Linked DNA regions of Homo sapiens: region 1 is linked to region 2. The links are contacts of gene promoters, found by promoter capture Hi-C in blood cells and fetal thymus (Javierre and others, 2016). All regions are on one chromosome and are shown on one strand. The core of a region is centred on a gene start or on the middle of the fragment in contact, and the rest is flanking DNA. Distances in the headings are between cores, read along the strand shown. Region 1 overlaps EIF2AK4 (eukaryotic translation initiation factor 2 alpha kinase 4). Region 2 holds the start of BUB1B (BUB1 mitotic checkpoint serine/threonine kinase B).

What was found. Contacts are between HindIII fragments. The CHiCAGO score rates a contact against its expected background, and 5 or more counts as called.
Region 1: a fragment that was not itself captured here is called in contact with the fragment with the promoter of BUB1B in region 2 in 8 of 17 cell types (total B cells, erythroblasts, fetal thymus and 5 more); the score reaches 7.8 in total B cells.

What each region holds. Positions count from the first base shown.
Region 1 is chr15:40,020,798-40,028,494 of GRCh38, reverse strand. It overlaps EIF2AK4 (eukaryotic translation initiation factor 2 alpha kinase 4), which reads right to left. Exons shown (of 39, transcript NM_001013703.4): 31 at 7,468-7,596; 32 at 5,890-5,976; 33 at 2,406-2,518. Among named protein-coding and RNA genes, the nearest start is that of SRP14, 15 kb to the left of the region's middle. RefSeq lists enhancers at 5,120-5,619, 5,620-6,121. The HindIII fragment of the contact is 3,995 bases long and covers 441-4,435 here.
Region 2 is chr15:40,159,017-40,166,918 of GRCh38, reverse strand. BUB1B (BUB1 mitotic checkpoint serine/threonine kinase B) reads right to left here and starts at 5,850. Exons shown (of 23, transcript NM_001211.6): 1 at 5,664-5,850; 2 at 1,723-1,866. The coding sequence starts at 5,698. RefSeq lists enhancers at 4,695-5,459, 5,467-5,596, 5,617-5,716. The HindIII fragment of the contact is 2,113 bases long and covers 4,942-7,054 here.

The DNA.
Region 1 (7,697 bases), core at 1,189-3,688, 140 kb after region 2:
TCCTAGATACCAGTAAAACTCCCCAGTTGTGACAACCAAAAATGTCTCCATACATTGCCAGATGTGCCCTGGGAAGCAAAATCATTGTTGGTTGAGAATTGCTGATGTAAGCCAGAAAAATTACCGTGTGGTATTTTCTGATAATGAGCATACATATAAGAATTTCTTGAGGCGGGAGAGTTGCTTGAGTCCAGGAGTTGGAGACCAGCCTGGGCAACATAGGGAGATCCTGTCTCTACAAATAATTTAAAAAAATTAGCTGGACAAGGTGGTACATGACTACGGTCCCAGCTACTCAGGAGGCCAAGAAGGAAGGATCACCTGAGCCTGGGAGGTTAAGGCTATAGTGAGTCATGTATACACCACTGCACTTCAGCCTCGGCAAAAGTGAGACTCTATCTCAAAAAAAAAAAAAGGAGTTGCAAATATATAGAAAAGCTTAACAAAGTAATTTAAGATCCCTTGTAATCCCACTAACCAAAACTACAATTAAAAATTTGGTACGTTCTTCTAGACATTTTTTTATGTATAGGTTGTATATTTTGTTTAAAACAAAATGGGATTATATATTCGTTGTTGTTGTTGTTCTTTTTGTTTTTTTTTTTGAGACAGAGTCTCGCTCTGTCACCCAGGCTGGAGTGCAGTCCACGATCTCCACTCACTGCAAGCTCCACCTCCCGGGTTCACGCCATTCTCCTGCCTCAGCCTCCCGAGTAGCTGGGACTACAGGTGCCCGCCACCATGCCCCGCTAATTTTTTTGTATCTTTAGTAGAGACGGGGTTTCACCGTGTTAGCCAGGATGATCTCGATCTCCTGACCTCATGATCCCCCCTTCTCGGCCTCCCAAAGTGCTGGGATTACAGGCGTGAGCCACCACGCCCGGCCACAAAATGGGATTATATTAAACATCCTATTTATGGACATCTTTCCATGTCAATGAACTCAGCTTTAGTAGAATCATCATTTTTAAAGGCTGCACAATATTTCACCAAATTATCATAATTCAAACAATCTTCTACCAATGTATATTTTGAAATGAGGTTCTCCAAGTGTGGTCTAGAGAATCTTGAAGGTCCCTCATATCCTTTCAAGGGGTCTTGCAAGGTCAAAACTATTTTCATAATAATCTTAAAATATTAATTGCCTTTTCACTCTCATCCTCTCATAAATGTGCAACCGAGTTTTCCAGAGACTATATGATTTGTGGTATCACAACAGATTGAATACATAAACAGACAGGAGAATCATTTCTTCTACTAAAGTGTTAAAATAGATTACAAAAATGTAAAACAGTGTACTAAAAGATGTGCAAATATTTTAAACAATGCCATTTTCCTTACTAAGTTAATTTTCTTTTGGAAAACAGTTGTTTTTCAATAGAAATATGTTACGTTAGCATGTAATGGGGTTATTGTTATTTTTAAATGAATAAACATATTTAAAATGTTTATGTTTTAATATTTATAGATATAACTCACATAAACAAAAGTTCTTTGGGATCCTGAAATAATTTTTAAGGGTGTAAAGGGGTTCTAAGACCAAAAAGTTTGAGAACTGCTGTTATAAATGAGCCTTGATAGACATCTTTAAAATAATTTTTATTATAAATTCCTGAAAGTGGAATTGCTGGGTCAATTTAAAAAAAATGTTTAGTTTTAAGGCTTTTAATTTACTTTGTCAAATTCCTACCCATATGGTTGATACTCCCATCATGAGGAAGTGAGATCTTTTCCCAGAACGTTACATCTTTCAAAGTACACGGACAAAATATTATTGAAATTCACTGATTAGCAGACTGAATAAGATAATGACAGATAGATTTTGGCTCCTGAGGCTTTTCAAAATGATAAAGTATTCTTGGAAATGGTATGAAGAACAAATGTTGAATGTAAGCTATGATTAGTCTCATACAAGATGGTCATACAATTAAACTCCTGATTGAGTTATTCAGAAGCAACAGAATGGTTCATTAAAAGTAATCCTGACCTATCTTTGTTTCTCAAAAGGATCAAATTGATTTCTTTCTTTTTGTTTTTCTTAGACAGGGTCTTTCTCTTCACCCAGGCTGGAGTGCAGTGGTATGAACATGGCTCACTGCAGCCTTGACCTCCTGGGCTCAAGCAATCCTCCCACCTCAGCTCCTGAGTAGCTGGGACCATAGGAATGCACCACCATGCCCAGCTAATCAAAAAAATTTTTTTTTTAGAAATGGGGTCTTGGTATGTTGCCCAGGCTGGTCTTGCATTCCTGGCCTCAAGTGATTCCCCAAACTTGGCCTCCCAAAGTGCTGGGATTACAGGTGTGAGCCACAGCACCTGGCTCAAATTGACTTTTAAAATAAATTTACGTAGTTTCCATATAGGTAACTGAAGTCACTTTTCTCGGCTTTTGTTTCCTAAGTTACCTGCCATTCCTTTCATCAGTGACTTTAGTCCTCAGTTTCTGCAGTACATGGTCCACAAGTTCAGTCTCCAGCACACGCTTCTCTGTCTGCCTTTCCTTCTCGAAAGACTTAACCTTAAAAAGAATGAAACGGATCTATCATTTGGAGGTTTCTGAACCCAGAAGACTAGCTCAGAGCACCACAGTAAGACTACTAAATCAATAGTTTGGGTCAGTGGTTCTTAACCAGGGTCAATTTTGCTCCCCAGGGGACATTTAGCAATGTCTGGTGACATTTTTGGATGGTGCAACTGGCATGTAGTAGGTAGCGGTCAGAGATGCTGTTAATGCACAGGACAGCCCCCTACAACAGAGAATTATTTGGCCCAAAATGTGAACAGCGCTGCTGTTGAGAAACCCTGGTCTGGACTAGTTTATCACAGATGATAGAATTTTTTTTTTTTAAGGCCAAGATGAATGGGCTCTCATTTCATGTGATTCTTTAACATCTTCCCCTTTAAATCTGGTCAGCCACCAAGGTTTCTCAGATCTCAGCTTCATCTACCACTCCTCCCTCTCCTTTCTAAACCCAAGTCCTGTCATCCCACTTTTATGGCATCTGTCCCTTCATCTTCACTCCCCTGGCCAGCACCCAACCTTGGCCTAGGCTAGTTTGATATTCTTTATACTGCTATCACTGTCCTCGGTTTCTCCCTCACTCTATTCCATGCTACACATCCCTGCAGATTAATTTTTCTCAAACACAACTTTGATGTCTCCTTCTGTTCAAAACATTCGGGGCCTCCCCAATAACTGCTAAATAAAAAAACCAGATTCCTTGGTTGGCATTTGGGCTCTCCATGATGTAGCTATAACCATTTTCTGCTTCTGATCCATCTGTCTCACCCAAAATAGACTATTCAGGGTTGTACCAGAATGGTTCTCTGCTGGCCTGCCTCTATCTTTGGGACAACTACTAAAAGAACTACCATCACCTTTGCAGTTCCCTCTTCCTAAAAGGCCCTTCCAGGACCACGAATTCTTGAGGGTAGGATAAATCCCAGCACCTTCCTGAAGACTTCACTGCTGCCTCTTATGTAAATCTCCCAGCCTGAGGGACCCTTGGAGAACTTTATCTGTAGGACTCTCATGGCATTTAGCAAATCTCATGGCATTTGGCATTTAGTAGAGACCTCGTCTCTACTAAAAATACAAAAATTAGCCAGTCATGGTGGTGCGTGCCTGTAGTCCCAGCTACTCGGGAGGCTGAGGTGGGAGGATCACTTGATCCTGGGAGACAGGTTCCAGTAAGCTGAGATCGCGCCACTGCACTCCAACATAGGTGAGTGAGACCCTGTCTCAAAAAAAAAAACAAAAAAAAGCCAGGATTCTCAGAGTAAAAAAAAAAAAAGGAGGCTGGGCGCAGTGGCTCACGCCTCTAATCCCAGCACTTTGGGGAGCCGAGGTGGGTGGATCATGAGGTCAGGAGCTCGAGACCAGCCTGACCAACATGGTGAAACCCTGTCTCTACTAAAAATACAAAAATTAGCTGGGTGTGGTGGTGTGTGCCTATAAACCCAGCTACTCAGGAGGCTGAGGTAGGAGAACTTGGGAGGTGGAGGTTGCAGCAAGTGGAGATTGCACCACTGCACTCCAGCCTGCGTGACAGAGCAAGAATCCATCTCAAAAAAAAAAAAAAAAAAAAAAAGGAAAACTCAACCTAGTGACTGTGTATAAGAAACTCACTTTAAATATAAAGATAGATAAGTTAGCCAGGTGCAGTGGCACACGCCTGTATCCCAGCTGGAGGCTGAGGTGAGAAGATTGCTTGAGCCCAGGCGTTCAAGGCCAGCCTGGGCAACATGATGAGACCCCCATCTCTTAAAAAAAAAAGACAGGTTAAAAATAAAAGGATGGAGAAAGGTAGTGACGTAAACACTAACCAAAAGATTTCAGAACAAGAAATATTACCAGGGATAAGGAATATTTTATAATGATGAAGACAATTCATCAAGAAGATATAAAATCCTAAACATGTATAATAACAAAGCTTCAAATTTTTTTCTGTAAAGGGCCAGATAGGAAATGTTTTAAGCTTTGAGGGCCATACATAGTTGGAGTCACACACTCTCCTTTGTTTGTTGTTGTTTTTTAACAAAGAATGTAAAAATTTCTAGTTCACAGACATATAAAAGCAGGCTATGGGCTGAATTTGGTCCAAGGTGTAGTTTGTCAATACCTCATCTAAAGTTCTACCTGAAGAAACTAAAAAAAGAATAAACTAAATCCAAAATAAGCAGAAGGAAGAAAATAGTAATGGATAAGAGTGGAGATGAATAAAATAGAAAACACATGAACAAATAAAAACTGAGAAAAATCAATGACACCAAAAGCTGGTCCTTGGAAAGACAAAACTGATCAATCTCTAGCCAGGCTGATTAGACAAAAAAGAGGGAGGACACAAATTACCCATATCAGGTCTGAAGGAGGGAGCATCACTGCAGATCCTAGAGACAGTGAAACAATAACAGGGGAATATCTGAAAACTCAGACGAAATGGAAAAGTTCCGGGAAAGATATAAACTACCAAAGCTGCCTCTAGAAGAAAGAGGTAACCAGAATAGCTCTATATATAGAAATATTTGAGATTGGACTTCTAATACTAATTGTATACAGTATCTTACAGAAAACAGAAGAGGAGAGAACACTCTCCAACTCATTTCATCAGGCCAACATTACCCTGATATCGAAACCAAAAAAAAATTAGAAGAGAAAAATATTTTTAAGAAAGTTTTTTTCCCTTTAAAAATAATTAGAAATAAAGGTTATGAGGTGGTATATTTATGAACACTTTTAGTTGAATACAAAAAAGTAAAATTGGTTACAAAGCAATGAGAGGATATGCCTATCAGCAGATACAACTTTACTTATTCTTATTTTCTTAGCTGGAAAAAGAGAACAAGAGGAGAAAAGTAGGAAAAAACCACAGCCAGTTTTTTTGTTTGTTTTGCTTTTTAAAGCTTTAATGAAGGTGGACTCTCTTCCTTATTTTATACACATTTTCTTCAGCAAGAAACCCAACAACGGCCGGGCGCGGTGGCTGACCCCTGTAATCCCAGCACTTTGGGAGGCCGAGGCGGGCAGATCACGAGGTCAGGAGACCATCCTGGCCAACATGGTGAAACCCCGTCTCCACTAAAAATACAAAAAATTAGCCGAGCGTGGTGGCGGGCACCTGCAGTCCCAGCTACCGGGGAGGCTGAGGCAGGAAAATGGCGAGAACCCGGGAGGCGGAGCTTGCAGTGAGCCGAGATTGCGTCATTGCACTCCAGCCTGGGAGACAGCGAGACTCCGTCTCAAAAAAAAAAAAGAAACCCAACAATGGAAAGGGAGAGTAGAGGGAACGGATTTCCAGTCACCTACACGGCCCGGGCCTCAGTGTGAAGGCAGGTGCTCCACAGGTAACACCTAACTATTGAATTGTAAAAAATCTCTGACGTCTTTACCTTGACATGGCTTCCTTCTTTATCCGAGACAAGGGCCACATAGGTGATTTCATGATGTCTGCAGTACTCTTGTAATTCCTCTTGGGACTGAAACAAACAAACATAGTAAAGAAAATAAACACAGAGCACCTGGAACAGCTTCAAGTAATTAAGGAGAATGAAAATACTGTTTCCAATTATATTCTCAATGTGAATTACTAAAATGCTGACTTCAGGGGGATATAAATATTAAGCAAGAAGCCGCATAGAATTCAAGGGAGGAACAAGGCCTCTCTTGCCTCCCTTCCCTTCATGATTGTTTAAAGGGCCATGAATAATCAATCAATAGTAAGAGGTTTTCAAAAGCTTCAAGACTTAATAAAAGATGCCCAAAATTATACAACACAACATACACACACACACACACACACACACACACACACACGCTGAAAAAGCCTCTGAGGAAAATGAAGGAAACAAAGGAAATAAGGGAAGGTGAAAAGCAGAACTGAAGAAGCAAACCAGGAGGGGGCAGAGAAGCCTGTGGGGTGTCACTGTGCAGGACTGAGGTCACTGGCCACGAGGCTTGGATTTTACTGCAGGACAGAACACTTCTCTAATGATTTATGAAACATGTGAACAAGTAGAAGAGGACACTGTTCTGTCAAATGATTAAAAATTGTTGCTCAGCACACTTCTGATGTGAATTTTGATACAACACACACACACGAGTAAACAGCAGCAGCTTCAGAAGCCTCCTGGCAGGTGATGTAAACAGAGCAGGTGGGAGGGTGGTGGGTCTGTGTCCCTGGTCATCGCCATGCTCTGGGGCACCTTTAGTGTGGGCGAATGTGGGTACAACCTGGATGATCTCCTGGGAGTGCACCCCTTCTATGGTCTGCTTACGCCCCCATTCCAAAGGGCAGGCATGTGTCCTGGGTGCCACTTTCCACACCTCCACACCCACGGCAAGTGTCAGGCCTGCATGCTGTGGGAGGTCTCAGGATACAGAGCCCAAAACACACTAAGCACTGAGTGCCTTCAGAAGTGTGGCAGGCTGGAGTACAGCCCCGCAAAGATGTCCATATCCTCATTCCTAGAACCTGTGAGTGATCAACCAGGATTATCTGGGTGGGCCCCACGTAATCACAGGGTGCATGTATGAGGGAGCTGGACAGACAAGAGTTAGAGACAGATGTAAGAACAGAAGCACAGGTCAGCAAGGAAGGAGGCGCTTCATTGCTGAGTGTGATGATGGAGGAAGAGGCCATGAGCCAAGGAATGCAGGAGGCCTCTAGGAGCCAGAAAAGGGAAGGACACAGATTCTCCCCTAGAGCTTCCCAGAGGAGCCAGCCCTGTTGAATTTAACCCAGTGAAAGTGCTTTTGGATTTCTGACTTCCAGAAATGTAAGATAATAAATATGTGTTTAAGCCAGTAAGTTTGTGGTAATTGGTTACTGCAGCAATCAGAAACTAACACAGGAGGCAACTCGAATTACAGAGATAAACAGAGTTTGACAGTCTATAGGTGCAGAGGATATTTGCCATGAAAGCCATAGCAATTTGCACTTCACTCACAGGTGCTTTTTGTCCCATTACCTGTGACCAGTCGTACATGATTTCTGCTGTGATGCCTGCTGTCCAGAGTTTCTGGGTTAGGTTGATGGCCCTGGACATAGACATCTGGCCAACACTTACAACCAGGAGGTCACAAGAGCTTATTGTAACCTGGATCAGAAACAGACCGGTTACAGTTAGAGGAGCAAGACTGCAGGCATGGAAGTGAAACCAGCATCAGGAGGGGAGGCAGCACTCTTGGGAAGATGGGC
Region 2 (7,902 bases), core at 4,601-7,100:
AAAGGCCAAAAAGCATGTGAAAAAACGTTCACCATTATTAGTCACCAGGGAAATGCAAAGTAATGAGACACAACTCCACAAAACTAGAATGGCTAAAACGAAAAAGATCGACAACACCAAATACTGGAGTGGATTTGGTACAAATGAACTCTCATGAGTTGCTGGTAGAAATGTAAAATGTCACAACCTCCTTGGTAAACCAGTTTCTTCAACAGTTAAACATACATCTATTCTATGGTCCAACAATTCCACTCCAAGGGAAATGAAAATTATGTCTACTGCTGGGCGCGGTGGCTCACGCCTGTAATCCCAGCACTTTGGGAGGCTGAGGCGGGTGGATCACAAGGTCAGGAGATCGAGACCATCCTGGCTAACACGGTGAAACCCCGTCTCTACTAAAAAATAGAAAAAATTAGCTGGGCGTGGTGGCAGGCACCTGTAGTCCCAGCTACTCAGGAGGCTGAGGCAGGAGATTGGCGTGAACCCAGGAGGCAGAGCTTCCAGTGAGCCAAGATCGTGCCACTGCACTCCAGCCTGGCCGAAAGAGCGAGACTCCGTCTCTAAAAGAAAAAAAAAAAAGAGAGAGAGAGAAAATTATGTCTACAAAAAGCCTTGTTCAAGAATGTCCATAGCAACATTATTTATAAAGCACAAAACTGGAAGAATCTAAATATTCATCAATTGGTGAATAAATAAATGAAATCCTATTCAGCAATAAAAAGAGCAATCTACTGATGCATGTAACATGAAAAAATATGATGAATGAGGCTGAGTGCGGTAGCTTACGCCTGTAATCCCAGCACTTTGGGATGCCAAGGTGGGCGGATCACTTGAGCTCAGGAGTTCAAGACCAGCACAGCCAACATGGCAAGGACCCATCTCTACTAAAAATACAAAAATTACCCAGGCGTGGCGGCGCACGCCTGTAATCCCAGCTATTTGGGAGGCTGAGGTGGGAGAATCACTTAAAACCGGGAGGCAGAGGTTGCAGTGAGCTGAAATCAGGCCACTGTACTCCAACCTGGGTGATAGAGGGAGACCCTGTCATATTAAAAAAAAAAAAAAAATCCAAAGAGATGAATAAGAATAGTCATTGCATTATAATCCCAAATTATGATATTTTGCCAGTAATGGCAGTATTTCTTTTTGTCAGAGATTGAAGGTAGAAACTGATACTCTGATTTACCTTTTTTTTTAAAAAGCATATTTATCAAAACATGTATTAGTTAAAGGAGATCCACAGGTCCATTTGAATAACATAAGAGTATTTTTCAGCTTTTATTTATCCAGAGTTTGTTAAAATTATTGAGAACTTTCTGGTATAAATTCAATTGTTCTGAGGTTTACATGTCTTTGGAGACCACTTCTTTTTTTGTCATACTCTCAAAAATAAGTTCCTAACATAATACTTTTGGGAAGCATTGCAATATAATACTTGCTTTACTATGCTTATCACTGCCCCCTGTATAAAATGTATTTCTATTGATAAAAAGAGTTTCGCTGCACCACAGTGAAATGAAATCCTATAGCCCTTGTTCTTAATTATACCTGAGGACATCTTCAGATAGCTGTCATGTGATACGAAAGCAGGTAGAGAACAGATTCTCATACTACCAATTTTTGAAAAGTACTCATTATGCCATCTCTCATGGATCCACACCCACGTTATCTACAACATTTAGGATGAATGACGACAGGTTGAGACTCAGCCATTCTACACACCGTTTCTGCTGCTGAAGAGTATTGTTACAGGCAGATTCTTGTGCCAGTGCTCCCTGAAGCGTGGACATGATCCGCCCTTGCCTTAAAGGTTGTACATTTTCTTTACTCAGTTCCCATTCATCTCCCTCCAGGGACATGGCTTCACTGTGAAGAAGGAAACAAATGTAAATCTCATACCAACATTGACTATTATAGCACTAGATTATTGTAAATGTCTTCCGAAAGGTGATTATTCATGGTCTTGGGTTGAATATAGTGGACTGACACATAATTATTATTATTATTATATGCCTAAGCTTCTTTGTTAGCTGTTTTTCAAGTTTATGGCTACAGTATTGCCTGATAGAAGACAACTTGGCAAGGATATCGTAGACAGTACTATAAGAATAGGGCATGGCTATGTGCGGTGGCTCACACCTGTAATCCCACCACTTTGTGAGGCCGAAGTGGGAGGATTTCTTGAGCCAGGAGTTTGATACCAGCCTGGGCAACATAGCAAGACCCTGCCTCTTTCTTTAAAAAAAAAAAAAAAAAGAAAAATGAATAGGGCTTAAGGCAGAAAGAAAAGAAGGGAACAAAAGTGTTATAAATTTGGCAAAGTAGACAAAAAGGCAACAAGTAATTCTATGCCTACCATTGAATGCATCATCTAGTTTAATTTAAAATTAGTGCCGGATGTGGTAGCTCATGCCTGTAATCCTACCACTTTGGGAGGCTGAGTCAGGAGAAGTGCTTGAGCCCAGGAGTTCAACACCACCCTGGGCAACATAGGAAGACCCCCATCTCTACAAAAAGTGAAAAATTAGCCAGGCGTGGTGGTACACGCCCATGGTCGTGGCTACTTAGAAGACTGAGGTGGGAGCATTGCTTGGGTTCAGGGGTCGAAGCTGCAGTGAGCCATGATCACACCACTGCACTGCAGCCTGGGCAACAGAGCAAGACCCTGTCTCAAAAAAAAAACATTAAAATTAGCAAAGTGTGGGTGAGACTAATGTCCCATGTTTCAATGATGATTCAAAACTGAAGTTTGTACATATAAGTAGCTAAAAGCAGAAGCAAACAAACACAGTTTACTAGTCACAATTCCCTGCATCCTCACACCCAATTCTAGCAAGCCTACTGAGAAAACCCCCGAAACGTTTTGGAGGTAATTCCCATTACGTATTCTGCAATTCAGAGCCCTGCAATGGTTAGATAGAAGACTATTTCTAAGAGACATTACCTCTGGACTTAAAACAAAAAGAGAGACACATTGGCACTAATCTTTGAAATAGAGTGAAAGTTATATGTGACTTCAGTCTAGATGAGCACTGAAAACTCGTTGGAGACAGCTTCTTGGAAACTATGACTTTAATCAAAATGACATGTAACAAAACCAATTTTACCACAGGCTGATCGACATAAACAAAAGTTAAGTTCCTATGGCATATTTCTGGTCACAAAAACGTCACCAAACTTCTGAATAAAGACTCGAAACAAACATTTTTAATACTAAATATTGAAATAAATGTGAGCTATCCGTACACTTAAGAACATTTAATGAAAACAAAAAATAATCATTTACCCAATTTTTGGCGAATCAGTGAATGACTGCAGTCATAGTGTTGGTGGGTTAACTCAAGGAATAAATGTTTGAGAGTGAAAATTTCAAGAAGTACCTCCTACCACCACAAAGTTCAAAAAACAAATAGTAACACTATAGTGGGCATGCTGGGCACTTTCATAAGGCATTGTTTATTGTCATGCATTTATATGATTATCATACACACTTTATATAAACTTTTTAAATAGAGACAGGCCTTACTATGTTGCCCAGGCTGGTCTTGAACCGCTGAGCTTAAGCAATCCTGTTGCCTCAGCCTCCCGAAGTGCTGGGATTACAGGTGTGAGCCACCGCTCCCAGCCTTTACAGATTTTTATTTTACAGTAATTTGTATTCATTCCTTCATTCATTTTCCAACTCACTTATTCTAGTTCGGGGTTGAGGGTGGCCAGAGCCCATCTCAGCAACTCAGAGAGGAACCAACCCTGGACAGGACACCACTCCATCACAGGGAGCATCACATTCACACCCATTCAGACTGGGATCATTTAGACACGCCAATTAACAGGCACATCTTTGGGATGTAGAAGGAAACTGGAGTACCTAAGGAAACCCATGCAGACATGCGGAAAACATGAAAACTCCACATACACAGCAGCCCCGCAATGAATTGATTTTTTTTCTCATCAACATTATAACGAAACGATGTTATACCAGGACCTGCTCTATATTGTGTGAACTCTGTAAAGGTAAGGGCTATGCCATTTATTTTTGTATGCCCATGATCTAATACGAGATATAACACTATTATGCCCTGTTTGTTGAATTCATCTGAACTTTCTTCTCTTGCTCTTAAAAATAGTGAATTACACTATCTCAGTTAAATATCCCAAATTGAGCTAAGACTGCCCCCACTTCCTCCCAGACCTGCTCCTCCCACAGTCTTCCTCTTTCTCAAATAAATGGCAATCCCATTCTTCAGTTACCCAAGCCAAAAATCTTAGTGCCAACTTTGATGCCCTTCTCATACCCCTCAGTCAGTCAGCAAGTCCTACTGGTTCTACCTTCAAAATATATACAGAAATCAACCACTTATCATCATCTCCACTGTTTTCCACCTGGCTCAACTCACTTTTGAGCTGAATTATTTCAATAACCTCTTAACTGGTGTCCCTTGCTTCCATCCTTTGCTGCCTTTAGTGTATTCAACACTACAGCCAAAGTGACCCCATTTAAACCCAAGTCAGATTATGTCTTTCCTTTGCTCAAAACCTTCCAATGACTTTTGATTACAACTAGAGTAAAAGCTAAGTCCTTACAATCTGCATCTTCACCATTTTTACATAATATCCTTTTACTCTTCTAGTTAATTCTGCTCCAGTGACAATGGCCTTGGACATGCCAGGTGCAACTTCCTCCCCTAGCTCTCACCCTCAGCCTTTGTACTCTCCTCAGATATAGAACCTCTAGCTTTTGAGATTCCTTCAAGTCTTGACCAAAGTGACATCTCCTCAGTGAGACTCCAGTGTTCAAGTTAAATTGCACCAATCCCCACCCCCAATATTCACTACACCCAGTTGCTTTATTATTTTTTTTAGTACTGACCACATCTCCACCTAACAGTTTGTCTTTATTGTCTGACTCCCCCACCTTCATCCCATGCCAGAACTTAAGCTTCATGAGGGTTGAGATTTTTGTGTCTGTATATTTGCTGCACTCAGAGCTTAGCCAAAAAAATACTTGTTACATGAATGAAAGAGCCCATGACATAGCACTTATCTAGGTATTGCGGGCACCACAGTGAAAACACATACAGATTTCCAACCTAGAACTGCAATATAGTTTTTTTAATACAAGGAAAAGCCGCAAACATGCAGAAAAAGGCTTTTAGATCTCTATGTTATTGGCATAATTTAGATCTCTATGATATTGGCTAAAGGCTTTCAGATCTCTGTGCTATTGGCATAGCACCTGCCATTTGTTGAGCGCTTATTTGGAAGCAGTTACTTAACAAATACTTTGAATTCCCCCAGAACCACGTAAGGCAGCATTAACATCAGCATTTTCCATACAAACGATTTGCCCAAGGTCAAACAACTAGCAGGTGGCTGAGCTGAGTTACAAACAGACAACATTGCAACTTCCAAACTCTTTGTTCCGCTGGGGTCCCGCAGCCTTCTTCGCTTTGAAGCTGGATGCGGCAGGATTCGCACGTGCCCTCAGTCCACTGCGTTTTCACCTCCACCTCCGGCATTCTACTCCAAAAGGAAGGAGGCTCCGGTGGGGTCTGTTCTGACGGTGCCGATCTCCCCCTCGACTGCTCCGAGCGGAGCCTTCTATTACCTACCAGGCCGTGTCCTCTCAGGCCCAGCCCCCAGCAGCTTTCTCCCGTACCTACCTCAGAGCACCCCCTTCCTTCTTCACCGCCGCCATCCTGCATTCCTGGCTCAGGTCCTCGTCCTGCTGCAGGCCTTTCCTCTGGGCCACAGACCGCCTGGGCTTTCTTCCGCAACCTGCCCTCGGAGCTACAGAAGCGACCAAGGCACGTACACGACTCCCTAACAAACCGGCCACCTCAAGCCCACACCCCTAGCCGCCAAGTTTCAAATTTAACGGTCCCGCGCGGTCGACGTGGCCACGCCCCTCCGCTCCTCCGTGCTCTCGCGTCTCGCCCAAGGCATTCTGGGGCTTGTAGTTTATGCCTGTTTAGTCCGCGAACTCGCGGTGCATAATGGGAATTGTAGTTTTTGGGATTCAATGGCCGTGGAAGTGCAGCAGGCTTAGGCAAAACAAATACCCCCAGGTGCTGTCTTGAGTCGCGGCTCGAAGCCGAGTCTCTGAGCCGAGCGAGGAACACTTAAAGCACCAGAACTTCTTTGCTGTTTTGAGTGTTGGGAGATGTCTCTGAGTGCTTGCACTTGGCGTGACTCTTGTAGGGTGACTACCCCTGCTGTCTGCCCCAAATCTCACCCGTCCGGAGTTCTTAGGCCACTGACCTAGCTGTTTCCTGCCCCACCCTTGAATTCAAAAAGCTGGATTCTAGTTCTGTAAAATCATACCAAATGTGCAACCTTAGGCAAGCTACATAATCTTTCTGACCATCAGTTTTCCTCATCTATAAAGTGATGATACTGTCTTGCTTTCTCTTCTGCTCAGTCCACAAGCAGTAAACACAGCCATGCTATGGTTCCCAAGGTGTTACCTCTTTTCCCCTTCAGGGGACTAGCCTTGACTGACATTAAACTGTTTGTTGCAATTTCAATTTTCTGAGGAAGAAATTGTGATAGCTCAGATGTGACCAGGGGAGTAGAGTCTTTTTGTTTGTTTGGTTGGTTGGTTTTGTTTTAGAGACAGGGTCTTCTTCTTGCTCTGTTGCCCAGGCTGGAGTGCAGTAGCCCCATCATGGGGCTACTGCATTCCAGCCTCCAACTCCCGGGGTCAAGTGATCCTCCCACCTCAGCCTCCGCAGTAGCTGCGATTACAGGCATTAGCCACCTTGAGGAAGGAACAGGGTCATTTAAGAAAGCCCAGGTACAGGGGAGTTCTCCTTTATGACTGTGGGGATGGTCAGAGAGGTGGCACTTCCCAGAGGCAGATGCTGAGGATACTGTCCACTACCCTCTGGTTCTTAGTTCCCAGCTTTCTGTCTTTGTTCATGTTATATAAGTCCTTCTTTCCTCTGAATCATCAGGACTCTTGATTCCAAAGAAGTAGAAATCCAACTTAAATCGGCCTACTCAGAAAAGGGAATTTACTGTCTTTTATATATAAAAGACTTCAGATAAAGCTTAACCCAGGACTCATGTGGACTGGGCCTCTCTCCATTTCTCGCCTCTACTCTTGTTGTTGGCTTATTGTCATTCTCCATTGGGTAACAGATTCACGACTTTATCCTTACAGGTTCAAATTCAGACTTAGGAGTCACCCTGCTTAACCCCTTCCTCCCAAACAGTCACTGGGGATAGTGGATTCAGGGCTTTGATTGTTCAGAACCAAGTCATGTGTTTCACCTTGGGACTGAGAGAGGGGAAGGGGTGATTCCTCATAGGAAATTTTGGTTACTCTTTACATCAAAGTCCTCCACATCCAGGAAGCTTTCCTGGATCATATGAGGTGTGGTGCGTGGGATTCTCTCACTGGCTCATTTTATCTCTTACCTTATGTCAGTACTGGCCTAGCACTTCATTTTCTTTCAACAGGGTGTCCTGTTCATATCTACAGCTTCTCAATTTTGACTATTTCCTACAAACAATCTTGGAAACGTAGTGTTTGGTCTTTTGATCTCAGTCTTTCCTATAACCTAGTCGGATTCCCCATAAACTCTGCTACGATGTAGAATGCATTCAGGCTAAACCCCTTGCTTGTTTCACTACGGGAAAAGAAGGAGGTAGGTAAAACAAAACTCCAAAATGTATGACAGAAGGTACTCTGTGGTTTAATTTGGAAAATGAGTTTTTAGGGATGTCCCATGAACTGATGGGTGGAGCTCCCAGCAAGCAAGGTTTGCCTTTGAGGAAGAGGAATGCTGAAAGCAGCAGGGTTTGTCTGTGGACTTGGGGGAACTGGAGTGAGTGGGGCACAGGATATCCACCTTGGATTGTGACCCTTTGTTGGCCTGGTCCCAAGGACTTACGGTT